Linked DNA regions of Homo sapiens: region 2 is linked to region 1. The links are contacts of gene promoters, found by promoter capture Hi-C in blood cells and fetal thymus (Javierre and others, 2016). All regions are on one chromosome and are shown on one strand. Each heading gives the region's core, a stretch centred on a gene start or on the middle of the fragment in contact. The rest is flanking DNA. Distances are from core to core; before and after follow the strand shown. Region 1 holds the start of GMNN (geminin DNA replication inhibitor). Region 2 overlaps GPLD1 (glycosylphosphatidylinositol specific phospholipase D1).

Region 1 (2,624 bases), core at 52-2,551:
TAGTCCCAGCTACTCGGGAGGCTGAGGCAGGAGTATCGCTTGAACCCGACAGGTGGAGGTGGCAGTGAGCCGAGATCCTGCCACTGCACTCCAGCCTGGGCAACAGAGCGAGACTCCGTCTCAAAAAAAAAAAAAGCTTAGAAAACAAAACAATCTAATTTGTGCGGGCATCCTGCTATTTTCTACTCTATTTCATGTTAAGAAAATGGTGTTCGGGCCCCAGTAAACAGACCCTACGCAATGTTCTTCAAACTGCGGGTCGCGGGCCGTGATCTCGAAATTAGTGAGTCATGAGCAACACTGCTTAGAAAAATGCAACTGAACAGAATGGAATTGAAGAGACGAGAAACATTGCTTCCATCACGTCTCATTTGGTTAGATAGCTGTGTCCTAGGTTGCGACGTAAAACGTACCTTAGTGTGAAAAAAGCTGAAAGCCACTTAGCATTCTAATCCTTCACAAGTTTCCCACGCCTGTCAGCGACCTTGCAACCCTTACTTGTTATTCTCCAGTTCCTTTAATAGCTAGATTAAAAACCCTGGCACAGGACAGGGTCCATGCGAAACCCGTATCAACAACGCCAGTATCCGTTTAATGGGAGACGCAGAATTCAGCCACCTCTTTCCATGAGCCAAATTTGCAGATCCCTCAGATCAGGACCAGCCACTTAACTGCCAAGAGGATGGATGCTTCGCCTCATCCCCACAGCTGGCAAGCCCAGGCTGAGTCCCTTACCCGCGTTGCAGTCCCCAAGCCCGGACCCAGCCAACTTGTCCCGGAGGCCCAGCGCCAGGCTAGGGGGCGGGCAGTGTGGCCCCGCGCGTCCGAGCCTACCAACCGCGGCGCGCGCCTCGGGAACTGCGCCAGCCAGCCAATAGGAAGCGCGGAAGTGAGAGCGCGCCAAAACCGACCCAGCCAATGGGGCAGTCCCTCGACTCACCTCCCAACCCCGCCCCGGCTCCCGCGACCGTTCAACAACCCCTTCGCCCTTACCCAGGCCGCGGCCCTGCAGCTGTCAAAGTAGGACGCGGCTTCAGAGGTTGGCCGGAGGGAAAGCGAGTCGTCTAGAGGCTGTGCGCCTTGCGCCCCTGCGTACCCACTTCCTGCCGCCTCTTGCCCACTTACTGGGTGGAGACGCTCAATCCTCGTAGCGAACGCACGTAGCTATGGCTGCAGCACCTCGCAAAAGGCCACAGCTCACCTACGCTGATCCCCACGGTCGCTGGAGTGCCCGGCGCGCTCTGCAGTAAAGCCCTGCTAACTCCGCTCGCCCGCTCCGAACAACCACGTGACCAACTGACGCAGACGAGGGGCGGGGCCTCTGGATCCCGCGAATCGCCTCTTCCCTCGGCCCCGCCCCTTCCTGCGCCTGCGCGGTCAACGGTAGCGAGTACTTGAGGACCGTGGGGGTTTTCTGCGGGCTGGGAGGCCTGTGCCCTTTGACCCTCCCCTCCGACCCTGCTCTTGGAACTTCCTTAAAATGCAAAGTTTTAGCCCTTTACGAAAGGGAGAAAGATTTGCCTCCATTAGTCGTTAGCACCAGAAGAACAAAATATTGTATGTGCATATATATTAATATGTAGTACACGACATATATTTGTGTAAAGCCCTGGCTCCACGGACTCGTAGTTGTATTAGGGGCTTTTATATTTTGGCTTTTTGTGTTTTGACTATGGTGTGGTGCGGTAGGAATTGTTCAGGAGACAACCGATTATCAGTTAATCCTGCAGCTATTCATTGAGCGCCTTATACGTGCCAATTACTACTGTTCTAGGCACTGAAATTACAACTGCTGTTGCAATTTGAAGGAGCAGAAACACCTTGGTAATAATTACGTCTAGCCTTTTCCTTCTTTTTTTTTTTTTTAATTGAAACGGAGTCTCGCTCTGTCACCCAGGCTGGAGTGCAGTGGCGCGATCTCGGCTCACTGCAAGCTCCGCCTCCCGGGTTCAAGCGATTCTCCTGCCTCAGCCTCCCGAGTAGCTGGGACTACAGACAAAGGGAGACCCTGTCTCAAAAAAAAATTAATTTTAAAATATTTTAAAAATAAAAAGCAGAAGGAAGGCGTTATCGAGTACAAATAAGGGACATATTACCAAATGCAATGTATGGATCTCGTCTGAACTAAACACTGTATTTAAAAAAATACCCAAGGGAAATTTGAACACTGACTGAATATTTTGGGATGGTAAGATATGAGTTGTTTAAGGTTACCTGATGAGCAATGGGTTAAAAAAAGAGATTAGTTGTAATGACAATATTGTGGGTTTTATTGTAATAGCTTCTACCTATAAATGGTAATTACAGATGAAATTTTATACCATATATTTTATTTGAAATAATTATTGAGAGAAGCAAGGGAAAAGGTATAAATCAAGCTTTCTCAGTATGGGCTCTATTGACATTTTAGACTGGGCAAATTGTTCGTGGTGGGGGCTGTCCTGGGCATTGTATGCTGTTTAGCAGTATCCCTGGCCTCTACCCTCTAGCTACCAGGAGTACATCCCAATTGTGAAGACCAAAAATGTCTGCAGACCTTGTCAGATAACCTTCCGCAGGGCAAAATCATCCCCAGTTGAGAACCACTGGTGCGAATAAAACAGTATTGGCCTTGTGTTGATAAC
Region 2 (2,624 bases), core at 48-2,547, 330 kb after region 1:
ACACTTCCAGGCCTGGGGTCGCAGAGACAGAGCCTGCTGGGAGGCCTGGATGGGGGGAGGTGCATTTCCTTTCCTTGCTCCTGAGTACCTGGCCAGCTGTCAGTCTTGTGCCCTGGCAGCTAAGCCCAGTGTGCTTCATTCTAGGCTGGGCCATTTGTTACACATCCGAGATGAGAAAAAGAGCCTTGGGAGGGTGTATGGCTACTTCCCACCAAACGGCCAAAGCTGGTTTACCATTTCTGGAGACAAGGTATGACAAGCCCTCCCCACACAGGAGAGTGGACACTCCAAGGAAGTTTTCTCACCTATACAATATTGATTTATTGTGTCTCACAGGCAATGGGGAAACTGGGTACTTCCCTTTCCAGTGGCCACGTACTGATGAATGGGACTCTGAAACAAGTGCTGCTGGTTGGAGCCCCTACGTACGGTAGGTCACACACTGTGAAACTGTGCTTCCTTTCAGTCATGTGGCTGCTTGTACATGTCGTATTGGAGGAAAGTGATGAGATCTGGAGCTGAACAGATCTAGGTTTCAATATTTCCTTTTTTCATTAATAACATTCTGTGTAACTTTGGGGAAGTTACTTAACCTCTCAGAACTTTTGTATCACCATCTACAAAACTGAAATTGTAAATACCTATTTCAGGCCGGGTGCGGTGGCTCACACCTGTAATCCCAGCACTTTGGGAGGCCAAGGTGAGAGAATCACTTGAGGTCAGGAGTTGGAGACCAGCCTGGCAACATGGTGAAACTTTGCCTCTACTAAAAATACAAAAATTAGCCAGGTGTGGTGGTGCATACCTGTAATCCCAGCTACTCGGGAGGCTGAGGCAGGAGAATCGCTTGAATCTGGGAGGCAGAAGTTGCAGTAAGCCAAGATCATGCCACTGCACTCCAGCCTGGGCAACAGAGCAAGACTTCATCTCAAAAATAAAATAAAAATAAAATAAAATAAGATAAAATAAAATTTGTGTTTCAAAGCTTTGTTGAAAATGACATATGAAAGTAACTTAGTGTATTTTTAAAGCCCCTATCCCATGGAACTTGGAGCCAGAGAAAAATTGTATAAGTCAGTTCACTAGGAATAGGTCCACTATGAGGACCTATCTTTTATTTTTCTTTTTTGAGACAGTCTTGCTGTGTCGCCCAGGCTGGAGTGCAGCGGTGTGATTATGGCTTATGGCAGCCTTGACCTCCTGGGCAAAGTGAACCTTGCACCTCAGCCTCCTGAGTAGCTGCGACTACAGGCAGTCAGCCACCACATTATCTAATTTTTTATTTTTTGTAGCGAGAGGGTCTCAACATGTTGGCCAGACTGGTCTCTAACTCCTGGGCTCAAGTAATCCTCCCACCTTGGTCTCCCAAAGTGCTGGGATTACAGGCATGATCCACTGCACCCACCCCTGAAAACATACTTTATATAAACCATTATTTTGTTTACTTTATGGGAAAGATAGTCTTTAAAAAAAAAAATAAATAAGAACCATTTCCTCCCAGATTATAAAGGTGAATTATGCTTATTGTGGAAACTTCTGAAAATACAAGGAAATATATAGAAGGAAAAAAAAAACACCCCTTACCCAGATATTTAAAAACTGAAGCTTATACTATATATGATATTGTCATGCCTAATTTTTTTACTTATATCTTAAGCACATTCTCATGTTAGTAAATATTCTTCTAAAACATGACTTTTGATATCTGCATTGCATTTTTTTAATGCCAGCATTTACTAACATCATCCTGTTGCTGGAATTGTAGGCTCGTTTCCAGTTTCACACTATTGTGAATAAGTAATTATTGAACACTCATGTACCTAGTCTTTGACTGCCTTTCTGATTAGTTTTTTGGATAGATTCCTGGAGATGGAATTACTGGAGTAGAGGTTCTAATCTTTCTAAAAGCTCTTGTTATATATCATCAAACTATTTTTCAGAAAGATTGTTGTTTCTTGCAATATGGGAAAGATTTGAATAATAAGCAGAAGTGGGTCAGACAGGCGGGGTGCAGTGGCTCACGCCTGTAATCCTGGCACTTTGGGAGGCAGAGGTGGGTGGATCAGTTGAGGTCAGGAGTTAGAGACCAGCCTGGCCAACATGGTGAAACCTGTCTAAACCTACTAAAAATACACAAATTAGCCAGGCATAGTGGCACGCTCCTGTAATCCCAGCTACTCCTGAGCCTGAACCACAACAATTGCTTGAACCCTGGAGGCAGAGGTTGCACTGAGCCAAGATGACACCACTGCACTCCAGCCTGGGTGACAGAGTGAGACTCAGTCTCAAAAACAAAAAAACAAAAAAACAAGTGGATTAGGCAAAGGAATGGCTAAATTTTTCATTAAATCGAAGACACAGCATTATAACAAAAAAAAAGTGCTGACTTAGCTTTGGAATCATGTTGGAAGCCAAAAGAATGAGGGTCGTGATAACTCAGTATACCACTGGAGGCTATTTGAGTAAGCAGCAAAACTGTTTCTCATAAATGCAGAATGTTGGCAAACTGACAAACTGCATTTGCCACCCAGAAGGAAAGCTGAGGGCAGTCACGCCCCAAGTGCCGTGTTTCTTGTGATTAGGCACATCTGAAGCCTGTTAATAATAATATGAACCTGTGATCA

Evidence for each region. The method cuts DNA at HindIII sites, captures the fragments that hold promoters and counts their contacts. A CHiCAGO score of 5 or more calls a contact.
Region 2: a contact is called between a fragment that was not itself captured here and the fragment with the promoter of GMNN in region 1, in 4 of 17 cell types (M2 macrophages, fetal thymus, total B cells and 1 more). The highest score is 5.5, in M2 macrophages.

Annotation. Positions count from the first base shown.
Region 1 is chr6:24,773,614-24,776,237 of GRCh38, reverse strand. It overlaps GMNN (geminin DNA replication inhibitor), which reads right to left and starts at 1,301. Exons shown (of 7, transcript NM_015895.5): 1 at 994-1,301. RefSeq lists an enhancer at 307-386. The HindIII fragment of the contact is 2,242 bases long and covers 139-2,380 here.
Region 2 is chr6:24,443,352-24,445,975 of GRCh38, reverse strand. GPLD1 (glycosylphosphatidylinositol specific phospholipase D1) reads left to right here. Exons shown (of 25, transcript NM_001503.4): 19 at 145-250; 20 at 337-430. Among named protein-coding and RNA genes, the nearest start is that of MRS2, 42 kb to the right of the region's middle. The HindIII fragment of the contact is 620 bases long and covers 988-1,607 here.